4 separate regions of the Homo sapiens genome follow, and all the other regions are linked to region 3. Evidence: promoter capture Hi-C in 16 types of primary human blood cells and fetal thymus (Javierre and others, 2016). All regions are on one chromosome and are shown on one strand. The core of a region is centred on a gene start or on the middle of the fragment in contact, and the rest is flanking DNA. Distances in the headings are between cores, read along the strand shown. Region 1 overlaps IFT74 (intraflagellar transport 74). Region 2 has its middle 320 kb from the start of C9orf72. Region 3 holds the start of MOB3B (MOB kinase activator 3B). Region 4 has its middle 28 kb from the start of EQTN.

Region 1 (3,344 bases), core at 54-2,553, 500 kb before region 3:
TCTCAACGTGCTTGGCTCTAGCAGTCTTTCTGCCTTGGCCTCCTAAAGTGTGGGGATTACAGGTGTGAGCCACTGTGCCTGGTGTTTTACTCTTTACTAGTGTATTCCCTTACATTGAATAAATTCTATAAAGAACAGCATTACTATTATAAGACATGTCAAAGCCTTACACAAATCACAAAAAAAGTGATCAGTTTTCTATGCAAAAATACTGAGCCTTTTGAAATCAGGGTAGTTCTCAGCTTCACCCAATGCTGGCTTAGATTTCAACTTTCTCAAGTCTGCTAGGTCAGTTACCAGTTCTCCATCTCCTTTCAGCTTCCAAAATGTTATTGCTGTTGTCTCCTATTTCTATATGCTGGGGGTTTCTACCTTTAAAAATTCTTTTTGCTATAGTTTTAGTGGGGTTTGCGGGAGGATCAAAATTAGATGTGCATGTTCAACGTGCCATTCATACCAGGAAATGACAATTATAAGCCTTAATTACCTAGAATTTCTGAAACTTTAAGCACCTTGAAGGTAGATCATTTTACTTATTTTTAAAAAGATTTTTTTTGTGTGTTTTGCCTTAAATGACCATCCTCATGCTTTCATTAACTGGGCAATTAGCCTCAGCTTATAGGAGGTCATCCTTTTCAGCTTAAAAAAAAAGTGTCCTGGCCGGGTGCAGTGGCTCACGCCTGTAATCCCAGCACTTTGGGAGGCTGAGGCAGGCGGATCATGAGGTCAGGAGTTCGAGACCAGCCTGACCAACATGGTGAAACCCCATCTCTATTAAAAATACAAAAATTAGCTAGGCATGGTGGTGTGTACCTGTAATCCCAGCTACTCAGGAGGCTGAAGTAGGAGAATCGCTTGAACTCGGGAGGCAGAGGTTGCAGTAAGCCAAGATCGCGCCACTGCACTCCAGCCTTGGGCGACAGAGCAAGACTCCATCTCAAGAAAAAAAAGAAAAAAAAAAGTCTTTTAAACTACTTAAAATTATTTTAAAGATTCAGATTAATTTTTTAAAATTGTAATTTTAAATATGAATCTGGCATGTATTTAACATGAAAAATGCAAGCAGAAAAGTATATAAAGTAAAATGTCATCTCCTTTCTCCTCATCCAAGTCTTCAGAGGTAATCATGGTTTACAGTTTAATGTTTAGGCTTTTAGACTTTTAATACATTGATAAACATATTTTTAAATGGAGTAATACTAATATACAGTTCTTCTGAGCTTGAGTCTTTTCATTTAACTGTATAATATACATTCTTCCCTATGAGGATGTATACTTCATTCTGAGAAATGGTATAGCATAGTGGTCAATGTTAGGGCTCTAAAGTCAGACTTAAGAATGGTGCCTGGTACAGGTGTGGTGGCTCATGCCTATAATCCTAGCACTTTGGGAGGCTGAGGGGGGTGGATTGCTTGAGCTCAGAAGTTCGAGACCAGCCTGGGCAACAGGGCGAAAACCTGTCTCTACAAAAAAATACAAAAATTAGCCAGGCATGGTGATGTGTGTTTGACTTGTAGTCCCAGCTATTTGCTAAGGTAGGATGATTACTTGAACCTCGGAAGTCGAGGCTGCAGTAAGCCGAAATCACTCCAACCAAAATCATGCCACTGCACTTCAGCCTGGATAACAAAGTGAGACCCTGTCTCAAAAAAAAAAAAAAAAAAAAATGGTGCCTGGTGCACATTAAGCGCTTCTGACAACCATTAGCTACCCCTATGATTGTTGTTACATAGGATTCATTGTATCCACATTGATATTTAGGCTGTTTCTAATTTTTTACTCCCAAGAACAGTGCTGCACTAGTACATTCATGTTTATAACTTGTCTGTTTATTTCCACAGAATAAATTTCTAGAAGTGAAATTTTGAATGGAATATTATTTATATTTACAACTGGTTTGCAAATTTCTTCCCAGAAAAGGTTGTATTATGTTATACAACCAAAAGCAGTATGTGAAGGTGGTTCCTTACCAATGCTAGCCATAAGTTTTTTAGTTTTTGTCAGTCAAGATAAGGTACACATCACTGACAGTTCCGAAGTTTTGACTGTTAGGCCTGAATTTGTAGTACCACCGCGATCCACAAGATGGGGCTAATTTTCTGAGCATCTATTAATATATACACAGTAGGATTGACAAATAGAGTTAACAAATGTTGTACGGTCACTGTCATATGTCTCTCCAGGAGGGATTATTGGGCATTATTACTCACCAAAAATGATTACTTTCCAGATTCAAGTATTTTCCCAAATGTGGAGTTGATTGTAAAACCAAATATATGATTATTAAAATACCATAATACATATAAATAACTAGTTGCTACAATGTGGTAAATATGTCATAATAGAAATATATGCAAAGTGCTATAGGAATATTGAATTACTGTCTTAAATTCTGAATGAATTCATTGTAACTTTCTGCATAATATATATGTGTCATTCAAAGTAGTAAAATAACAAAATATAATACTTTGGTTTGTCTATAGTATACTTTTTCATACTCAGAGTTCTAAAGCCTTGGTTAGGACCATTGTTTCTTTAATTATGGAGGGTAAAATAAACAATGTTAAAGACAGAATACTTTTATTTATTATTTATTTGTTTATTTATTTATGTATTTTGAGACGGAGTTTTTCTCTTGTGGCCCAGGCTGGAGTAAAATGGTGTGATCTTGACTTACCGCAACCTCCACCTCTCAGGTTCAAACAATTCTCCTACCTCAGCCTCCCAAGTAGCTGGGATTACAGGCATGCGCCACCACACCTGGCTAATTTTTTGTATTTTTAGTAGAGATGGGGTTTCTCCATGTTGGTCAGGCTGGTCTCAAACTCCTGACCTCAGGTGATCTGCCTGCCTTGGCCTCCCAAAGTGTTGGGATTACAGGCGTGAGCCACCACGCCTGGCCAGAATCATTTTATTTTAAGCACATGTCCTGTTACTAGAATGCCTGGATTCAAATCCAGGCTGTGCTGTTTGATCTTGGACATGCTATTTATGCTATTTAATCTTACTTTATCTTAGTTTTTTTTCTTTAAAATGGAGGTAATTACAGTACCTACCTCTTAGGGTTATTGTGAGAATTAGATTAGATAATTAAATAAACTTAATTATTAATAGTCTAATGTTGGCTGGAAGCCTTACCAATAACATAAATGGTAAACATATATAAACACAAAACACATTCATAATAGCAGTCAATTTAAAATATGCTCATAAATATTAATTAGTGACTTATTGTTAATGCTGTTACTTTATAAAAGCAAAATTGAATAACTTTACTGCAGTTATTTTCCCAAAGCATACATTAGAAAGTATTTTCCCGTCAGTATTTCCTTCAGGATGTACAA
Region 2 (3,490 bases), core at 338-2,837, 360 kb after region 3:
TTTAATCATTTTCTTTCTTAAAATGTCAAATCCTGGCTGCATTGGTATCACTCTGATGCTCTGAAATTTATTCAACTTTTCTAGTTTTTCAGGCTACAAGAGGTAGTCTGATGCAAAATGAAATGACTCAGTCAAAATAGAATATATTTTTACATATATATTCATAATGTTTTTGTCTGGTATTGGTATAAAGGTTATAGTAGACTCTTAAAATTATTGAGAACACTTCCTCTTTTCTCTTCGTTAACAAATTTTGCCTTAGATTCGCTAGATGTTTCTGAATGTTTGGTAGAACTTCTTTGTAAAACTATGGTGGCCTTGTTTATTTTCATGAAACATTTTTTTATTTTAAAATAGTGTAGCAGTTATAGTATCAAATATTATATTTCTTTTGAGTCAGCTTTGGAATTTATACTTTTCTAGGAATTCCTTATGTTTCGTTTTTCACATGTGTTGGCATCAAATTACTCATAGTATTTTATTTTCTTTTAAATCTCTATGTAATCTCCAGTTCCCTCCCTTTTAATCCATACTAACATAATTTCCATCTTCTCTTTTTCAATTTCCTTCAGAAATTTGTCTATTATTTTTTTCCTCAAATAATCAGTTGATGACTTTGTTGATCATCTTAATTCTTTGGACTTTCATTAGTTTTCATTGTTGGCATTAATTTTTACTTTTCTTATTTTCTAGCATGAGCGTTTAAAGCTTTGCTGCATTTCGAGGCTGTCGATGGCTTGCCACAGCCCAACTACGTGATCTTCTTACCTGAATCTTACCTTCCTCTTCCAACAGACTGCCAGGCAGGCTGTTCAGCAAAAGCATGATTGAGTGTGTTCCTTAAAGATAGATGCTGACACAATCTTCTCCTTTTTCACCTTTCATCTTCCTCTCATCTCCTAGTTTTCATTTTAAGCTAAGAAATATTTCTCTATTACTTATAAGCTAGGTATATTAAATATACATGTTAGCATTGTAATACAATGCCAAAGTTCTTCTAAAAATAATTGATGTATCTTTCAACATCAAATGCACATTTATATTAAAAAGAATAACATAGCAACTGAAGTTTCCGGTTTACCTTGGCCTCAGAAGAAGTGTATGTACATATAAAAGAGTCTCAAAAGTCTGGAGCTATGATGTGCTTTTGAAAATTTGCCATGTCCCAAGCACTGTAGTTTGAATTGGCTGATGGTGAGATAGCTATTTTTAAGGCTAGAGTTGTTCAAATCTGAATGTCGACACCAAGGGGAAAACAAGAGAGCCTGGCTCTGTGTATTATTTATGAGGAATTACCTTGAAACTTATCTTCAGGTCCTTTGTGGTAATAACTTCTCTTAATAATCAGATATAGTTTCAGAGCAGGCTGTTTCTCATTCATTTAAAATGGTTTAAAATTCTGTATCAGTTTGATTAAAGAAAATAATTTACTGCCCAGGTCGAACACTGAGTAAATTGAGATTGAATTTCTGTTTCTTAAAAATGTATTTTTTCACTTTGTGTGCAAAAGATAAGTTTTCAGACTAAATGCTGAAAAAGTCTGCGCTGACCAGTCTGTGTGCCAAGTTTAGATGGCCTCAATTAAGTTTCTGGCCCTATAGCACCCGCTGCTCCTCTGCTTCCCAGGATCCTCCATGCCCTTGCTGAGGGGTCATTTGTCTGCTGCTCTCACTTTGTTTAGGGGCCTGGCCAGGATCTTCCTCAGAACGATTTCCTCCTCCCCACCCTTTCCTCAGTCAGCTCAGGGAGTTGGGAGTTGGTTAGGCCTTGGGGACTCAGGGCCTGAACTAAATGCCTTATCCAGAATGGCTAAAGTTTCTCTAGGTACCAAGACAACTTAAATGTATTTATCTATAGATAAAGCTATACTTAATTTGGAAATGTTAGCACCTTATTTGTTAGAGGATTGATGATGTGGTCATCTTCTCATTTAGATAATTTCTATTATTAAATTATATTACTATAATAAAAAACATGTTTGTGGATATCCTGACAGGAAAATCAACAGATGCTACTTAACTCTTGGTTCATCTCAGCAGTCAGAAAGAGTGGGGATATTTACTCCGTGTATCCACTTTTCCTTTTTGATTTATAATCCAGGGGCAGGCACTGGAAAGGCCCTGAAGAAATAAAGAGTAATTCTGCTTTACCAGATATGCGGCTATAGTGTGGGAAGAGGTTAAATTTTGGTCAGATGTCTGGAAATAATGGGGCTGAAGATCCTCTGTGGCCTGACTGAGTTGATTCTGGATTTGTTGAATGTGCTTATATCCCCAGGAAGCCAGCAAATCCTGTAAAGTCCTTGATGGGCATCTAGCTAAAACAGCACTGTAAGTTAACTCTGACATTTGCTGCTCAGTTCAATAAGAGTAGGGAATTCTCATGCAGTTTTTGACAGGTATAGATAGATTATTACAACCACTTATTCAAGGCTTGAGAACACAATAGCATTAGGAAAAGTGAGACCCAAGCTTTAAGAGTTTTCAGGATCTAATGGATTTATGACCTGGAAGCAGAATAATAAACATAACATCTACCTTAATATTGGAATCCTTTTCTGGGAAAGAAATGGTGATGGCCTGGGTGTAGCTGTCCCTGTGAAGGAGGCCATAGGGATAACCTGGAATGCACAATCAATCTCATGGTGGAGGTTGGAAGAGGAGGAGGAGGTAGAGGAAATAGTGCTATCATTTTCTTCCTAGGTTATCTACATGTACCTGTATGAAAGACCAGCAGATGTCCTGGTCTCTGCCTTTTGAGCTGCTCTATTCCAAAGATACCTAAAGCCATTCAAAACTTGGGCCTGAGAAACTTATTAAAGCCATTTATTTATCTTTGGCCATTTCCTATATTTGATTTACTACATGTCATCATCAAAGGAGTAAATAATATAATTAAAGACTATATTGTAATCAAGTATTTTCCCAGTCCTCCTTTTTTTTTTTTTAAAAAAAAGGTAGAATTGAGGCTCAGAGAGCTGAAACTCTAAGGACCAACAAGCAATACATTATTGAAAAGCTTTCTTTTTTTTTCTAATATGACTGTTTCAATGAGGAGATGGTGTAAAGCAAACCAAGCTATGCATCTCAGCAAAGCATCTCTTGGAGTTCAGTCAGTAAGTAGTTATAATTAGGTTCAAAATCTCCAGACGTTATAAAAAACTAAAATGTACTTCCTATTATAAGTGATATAAAAAGGAGTGGAAGGGTAGTAATTGGAGACTAGTATCACTCACCATTCTCAATATATTGGAGACATGAGAAACTTGTGGGAAGTTCCTGTGGACTGTGTCCAGGGACAGCATTAACCCAGATATTGACCTTTCTTGTGTGAGTATGAAGGCAATGAAAAAAATTCTTCAAGAAATTTGCATAATTTGGGAGGAGAATATTAAATGTGTGGTATTTAGAAATCTACTTAGTTAAGTAAGTCTTTGCATGGAATTGGCCAGATTTCTTAGGAGCCATGCATAGCTTTGTGAGGAGGTGAT
Region 3 (2,975 bases), core at 331-2,830:
TGTGGACCCCAGAATCTCAGCTTTCCGCCTACCAAAGGTGCCCCGATCCCCTCCCACTGCCCTAGCAGCGGCCCAGCCCCAACGCCTTTGGCTAGAGATTGAAATCCTCTGGAACCAACCACTGGACGCTCTGGATTGGGGCGGAACGCGCTTCCACTGTCTCGAAAGCAGCACCTTCTCGGATTTGAGCCTTTGCGGCGCGCCTGGGCTGAGATCTGAGAAATGCGCCCTGGGCCACAGGCAGCAGCGGAGGCGGGGAAGGAACAACTTTCCCTCCGCCCTCTAACCACAAGGGCGGGGTGGGGCGGCCTCGCTGGGGTCGGGCTCCTCCACTTTCCCAGCTGGGATCCCCTGCCGGAGCTGGCGTGGGGGCCGGGGAGGGGGACCAGAGGGGCTTCCTTCTCTCCCCAAGCCCCGCCAGATGTTGGAAAGGCAAACAATAGGGGAAACGCGGAGAAACAAAAGGCCATTCGCCACGATCTCAGTCGGCTGCGTAGAGAGATCTCTGTGGGGAGGGTTAGGGGAGAGGGTCAGGAAAGAGCGCGAGGGGGGGGATCCCGAGAGATTTAGAGTCTCTGGTACTTGCCAGGCACCAGGGGTCGGCGCTTTACCCTCCCAGCAGGGGTCTGAAGGTGGGAAGGGGCAATCAAAGAAAACTTGAAGGGTTTTCACCTTCTTCCCCAGTTCAGGGAAAGGGAGGGGCTGGGATTCCAGATGTTTGACAGTTGTTGGCCCCAAAGTTAAGCGCGATTTGTACGGCCTTTACACGCTCCCCACCTCCGTGAGGCATCGTCAGCCCCGGGGGCGACCTGGCTGACGGTGCGGACTTCCCCTACGCTGCCCCAAGCCGAGACTCCTCCCTCAGGATCAGGACGCCCAAGCGTTGTCCCCCAGCCCAGGCGCACTTTTGTAAAAGTTTGTCTTCCCGCCACCCACAGCCCAACACGCACCCTGCAGGCGTCCGCGGCTGGGGATGGGCTCGGAGTCTTGCACCCCGAAAGAAGGACGATCTTATTGATTTATATCTTTTCAAATCAAGGACAAATCAAGATCCCGGGGTGGAAAGTGGGCGACCCTTGTTCCTGCCGGGAAGTGCACACGAGGAGCCGGCCAGAAACCCAGGCGCCGGCAGGGGTCTGAAGAGGACTCCAGCCCCGGAAGCCCGTGGCCGGCGGGCAGAAGACCGGTCCGCCGCCTCCCGCACCTTCTTGCACCCGCGCCCAGGTGCGCCCCAAACCTCGCCGCCCGCCCGGGCGAGATCGGGAGCGAGCAGCCACCGGGCTGCGCCGCCTCCCCTAGCTTGGAGCGGGTTCTTACTCACCGTGGGGTTTTACCTCCAGCCCAGGGCCCGGTCGGCTCCCTTCGCCGGGTCAGCTGCAGCCAGCGCGAAAGAAAATGGTGAGCTCGGGGCAGGTGGGGCGTCGCTTGCCAATCCACGCAAGGGACTCTGCCGCCGGTGCGCGAGGTCCCGGCGAGCCAACCGGCGGACGGGCGAGCGCCTGGCTCCAGCTGCAGCCGCCGTCGCTCCGGAGCAGCCCCCTCATGCACCCAGCGCGCCGCGCAGCCGGCCGGGGCTCGACTGTCTCGCGGGGACGCCGAGCGGGGACCCCTGGCGGCCGCCTGCGGTATGGCAGCACCGTGGAGAGAAAAGTCGTCTTTGGGATCATCTTCCCTCCGGAAAGAGATGGGACATGACCAGTCTAAGGGGGCTTCCAGCCTTGCAGAAAAGACACTGGGCCAGGGCAGTGAAGAAGGTGTCAGATCAGAAAGGATGATCTCTGGGTCCACAACGGCCACTTCCAAGGCACCTAGAGAGGGGGAAACAGTTTGCCTTCCCCAGGATTTTCTGATTGTTGAAAAATACCATGAACTGCCTGACACAGAGCGGAGCATAAATCATTGGAAAATACTCAGATTCTAGTGGATTTACTAGAACACACTGGGAGTCATGGATGAACCTGGATTTTAAAGCTCAACCCACAGCCCGCCACTCTCTACTTGTGTGGTCTTGGTCTATCTACAACCTTAAAGCCTCAGTATTCTCCTCCGTAAATTGGCGGGGAGCAATATCACCCTTGCAGGGTGATGGTTACGGGTAAACTACATTTGAAACGTTTTTATAGTTTATAGTAACAGAAATCAAATATGAGCTTCCTGCCTTCTGGAGAAAAAGAATTGGATCTTTCACATTTTTCTATTACCCATATGATCACATCTTAATGCATATTGATTGAACTGTACCAAATGACGAAGTACTGCATTTTACCATTCTTACTACACACTTCAAAGAGGTGTGGAAATATATTAAGTAGAAATTAGGATATATAGAGAAAACATCCCTCCTCCAAAAGAGGTTTCTGCAACTAACTACGAAGTGAGAACTTCTAAAATCACTTACATCTTTTGCAATATCATCTCAGATATTGTAAGAAACATTTAATAAATAGTCATGACTTAATGATATCAACCCTGGATTAAATGACTCTAATTCTGTGTCACTTTTGTGTAATGTAAAGATACCGATTGTGAATATAAGACTCAAATATGGGAAAACTGCCAGATACAAAAATACAGCCGCTAAGCAATATTTCTGTTCATCACCGAGGAATCTCATTTCCAAAGTGCCCCAGTTTTTAAGAGGAAGAACACCAGAGTCAGACAGACCCATAGCAGCTGAGTCTAACCTTTCTGAAGCTCTGTTACCTCATCTTATAAAATGAGGATAATATAGGTAGCTGTCATTCAATGAAGGAATGCATACAACATGCTTAGCATAACACCTGTCACATGGTAAGTGCTCCAGGGTCACCACCTATCATTGTTTCCAGCATACAGTTATCACCCCACCGACATGTAGCCCCTCCCTCATGAGCTCAAGAGCCCCCAGCACGTGTTCTACTCACACACGCACAAGCTTCAGTGTCCCTTAAGATGTTATCTCCTGGAAAGTAGGAACAGAAAGAGAATATTTTCAG
Region 4 (3,295 bases), core at 733-3,232, 260 kb before region 3:
AGAGAAAAAAATCATATATGAAAAAGTCATATAGGAAAAAATGTAAGCACTCCAAATATCCAAATGTGTTTGGGCCACCACTACGCCCGGCTAACTTTTGTATCTTTAGTATAAGTTCTATAGAAAAGAATATCTATCGTATAGATTCTACATAATAGAATATCGTAGCCATTATAAAAAGCATGATATAGATCCAGATGTTAACAGATTCTAGATTAACTGACAAGGCCTCTGATACCTTATTCAGTGAAAATAGCTAGACATACTGTATATATAAAATTATCATATTCACTAAAAATTTTAAAACTATATACATCTCTGTAGTAATACATAGAAAGGTCTAAATAAGAAATATGAAAGAGTTGTCTTGGCTGCTTTTTACTCTTTATGTTTTTCTATATTATTTGAATTCATGCCATACATTCTTGATGGAACTGATACTGCCCACAAGGGAGCAAAATTGACTCTTGAGGGATGAAGAAAATCTTAAATACTATGATGGTATATGGTTCTTCAAAATTCAACCTTACCTAATAAAATCTTATCCCTTGGCACTTATTTTTTTTTATTATTAGTATACTTTAAGTTTTAGGGTACATGTGCACAATGTGCAGGTTAGTTACATATGTATACACGTGCCATGCTGGTGTGCTGCACCCATTAACTCGTCATTTAGCATTAGGTGTATCTCCTAAAGCGGCACTTAATTTTATGAAGGGGGAAGAGGGAGGTGATAGAAAAAATAATGTCTGCAAAGATTTCTTAGGGGGACGATAACGAAAACAAGGTTGAGAAATGCTATTCCGCATAGAAGTGAGTTACTTTCATAACCAGAAAACAAGTTTAAATATTTCAGTGATAACCTCTGACAATAAGGTTATAGTTATACATCCAATTTCAAATGCAGCTGATTTTCAACCACAAGTACCACCTACACATTCCACTAAAGAGACTATTTAAAAAATAAATTCCTTGGTATAAGCTAAAGATGGCCCTACTAATGAGAAAAAGTATTCAGGGTCAGGTACTAATTACAGGTTTTATCACTTGATTAATTGAAAAAAATAAATTACCTTGATCTCTTAGCTTCTTAAGATAATTTACTGCTATGTTCACATACATATTTCTCCTGCTACACCTTTCATATATTGCCTTTTTTTCTATTTTAGCCTAGGTCAAAAATTGAATAATTAAATATTAAGCCAAAAGCCTATGAACAGGAAATGTCATTTGCAATATAATGAATATGGCAAAATATTTATGTAACTTAATGAATGGGGGAAAACTGTGCCACCAATGAAAAGCAACTTATTTTCCATTTTGTGTTTGTTTTTTAAGAAGAAAAAAAAAAAATAGTCCGGGCATGGTGGCTCACGTCTGTAATCCTAGCACTTTGGGAGGCCGAGGTGGGTGGACCACTTGAGGCCAGGAGTTTGAGACTAGCCTGGCCAACATGGTGAAAACACATCTCTACTAAAAATACAAAAATTAGCCCGGCGTGGTGGCAGGTGCCTGTAATCCCAGCTACTCCGCAGGCTGAGGCAGGAGAATCGCCTGAACCTGGGACGTGGAGGTTGCATTGAGTCGAGATCACACCACTGCACTCCAGCCTGGAGGATAGAGAGAGATTCTGTCTCAAAAAAAGAAGAAAAAAAACAGTTCTATGACTCCAACCCAAGAACCAGATACTCTTGCTTCATAGACAAAAGGCTACTGTATATTGGTATACGGTATATAGTGCAATACCTATACAAAGCTGAGAATATACATCAATTCATTTGATTCTCACAGCCAGCCCCAAATATACCAGAGGCATATATTACTATTTCCATTTAAAAGAAACTAAGGCTCAAAGTGGTTAATTTGCTTAGGATTACACAGCAAATGGAGGACATGATCTTCATTTTTTCTTCTATAAAATTTACCTTCCTGAAACCATTACATAATTATTTTTATACCAAGGGTCATTAAGTCAGTAAAAGGAAAAGGAATGAAATATGAAAGAAACAAGCAAATGGAGTGTTATGATAATAAATATTAAATATATTATTAATTTATATACCTAGTATATGCAGGTTTGTTTTAAGCATATTAAATGTTTTCTCATTTAATCTTCATTATGACTGTATGAGAATGGGTGTCATCACTGATTTATATGATGAAACTAGGCTTGAACAAAGGAAACATCTTGCTTATTGTTACAGAGCTGGTAATTGAACCTAGGTGTACCCAAATGCCACCAAGACTCTTCTCATTACACTAAATCATCAGAGATAAAGCCATGGGAGGTTAGAGGGAGTAAGGAAGAAAAGACACATGATGAAAAAAGACAAAGCTGGAAGAAAATGAACAACACATAAGAGGCTCATATTGTCCCTTTTTATTTTTGCCATTATTCTTTAACCTACATAGAATCCTAGAGGACACAGACTTCTGGAATAGTAGAGCGAGAACCTTCATGAACTTACTGTCCCACAAAAGCAATAAAAATATTGGCAAAACAACTAAAAATCAACCATTTCAAAATTCTAATAACTAAAGCCACAGAACAAACTGAAAATTGTCTAAGAGAAACTACTGAACCTTGGTAACACAGTGGGTTCTGTGAAATTCCTACCTCCCTTCCCTTCCCAGCTTAGTGGCGCCACGGTTGTGAAAGGTTGGCCCTGAGAGCCAACAGAGTAGACATATCTTTTTTAGAACCATACTAAAAGCATTATTGCTAGAGCACTATCAATATTCAAACAAAAAACCAGTTCCCTGAAAAATCTCTATTCCTAGGGTGTTGTGGGTATTTGATTTGACTCAGAGTTCAGAGTATGGAGGGAAAAAACCCTATCTCCAGGGTGCAACTGAAACAATAGCAATATCCTGGCAATATCACAGCTAGCTAGGGCTATGGTTTTAGTCTGGCAAACAATAGTTTGGCTAGGAATTTAAAAGAAACTCTTGGAGAACTAGATGACCCTAGAGATTTGTAAAGGCTCTGACATAATCCTGGGTTTAACAAGTGTTCCATTTAAGACCTGGGAAAAGAGAAAATCCTATTCATTCACCAGTGGCCAACCTTGAGGCCCTGCACAAGCAGGAAGTGAAAGCTAAGGCTGTCTTATAAACCAAAAAATAAAAGAGGAGGGAACACTTTCCAATTTATTCTATGAGGTCAATATAACCCTGAGACCAAAAAAGAGACAGAATCATTACTGCAAAGAAAACTACAATCTCCATCCATTATTGAGTGAACAAAATGGATAACAAAAGTATGGTTATACATACCGTAAAGTGTTATTCAGTT

The links. Contacts are between HindIII fragments. The CHiCAGO score rates a contact against its expected background, and 5 or more counts as called.
Region 1: a contact is called between a fragment that was not itself captured here and the fragment with the promoter of MOB3B in region 3, in 4 of 17 cell types (M0 macrophages, M1 macrophages, naive B cells and 1 more). The highest score is 6.4, in M0 macrophages.
Region 2: a contact is called between a fragment that was not itself captured here and the fragment with the promoter of MOB3B in region 3, in 1 of 17 cell types (neutrophils). The highest score is 5.3, in neutrophils.
Region 4: a fragment that was not itself captured here is called in contact with the fragment with the promoter of MOB3B in region 3 in 1 of 17 cell types (M2 macrophages); the score reaches 5.6 in M2 macrophages.

Annotation. Positions count from the first base shown.
Region 1 is chr9:27,031,928-27,035,271 of GRCh38, forward strand. The region is part of intron 13 of IFT74 (intraflagellar transport 74); the gene reads left to right. Among named protein-coding and RNA genes, the nearest start is that of LRRC19, 28 kb to the left of the region's middle. The HindIII fragment of the contact is 6,282 bases long and covers 1-3,344 here.
Region 2 is chr9:27,891,025-27,894,514 of GRCh38, forward strand. No RefSeq gene overlaps it. Among named protein-coding and RNA genes, the nearest start is that of C9orf72, 320 kb to the left of the region's middle. The HindIII fragment of the contact is 1,763 bases long and covers 707-2,469 here.
Region 3 is chr9:27,528,234-27,531,208 of GRCh38, forward strand. MOB3B (MOB kinase activator 3B) reads right to left here and starts at 1,581. Exons shown (of 4, transcript NM_024761.5): 1 at 1,322-1,581. LOC124902107 (dapper homolog 3-like) reads left to right here and starts at 223. Exons shown (of 2, transcript XM_047424279.1): 1 at 223-493; 2 at 787-2,467. The coding sequence starts at 223. The coding sequence ends at 1,775. RefSeq lists silencers at 309-358, 1,329-1,628. The HindIII fragment of the contact is 3,596 bases long and covers 1-2,912 here.
Region 4 is chr9:27,267,348-27,270,642 of GRCh38, forward strand. It overlaps the pseudogene REXO6P. Among named protein-coding and RNA genes, the nearest start is that of EQTN, 28 kb to the right of the region's middle. The HindIII fragment of the contact is 4,471 bases long and covers 1-3,295 here.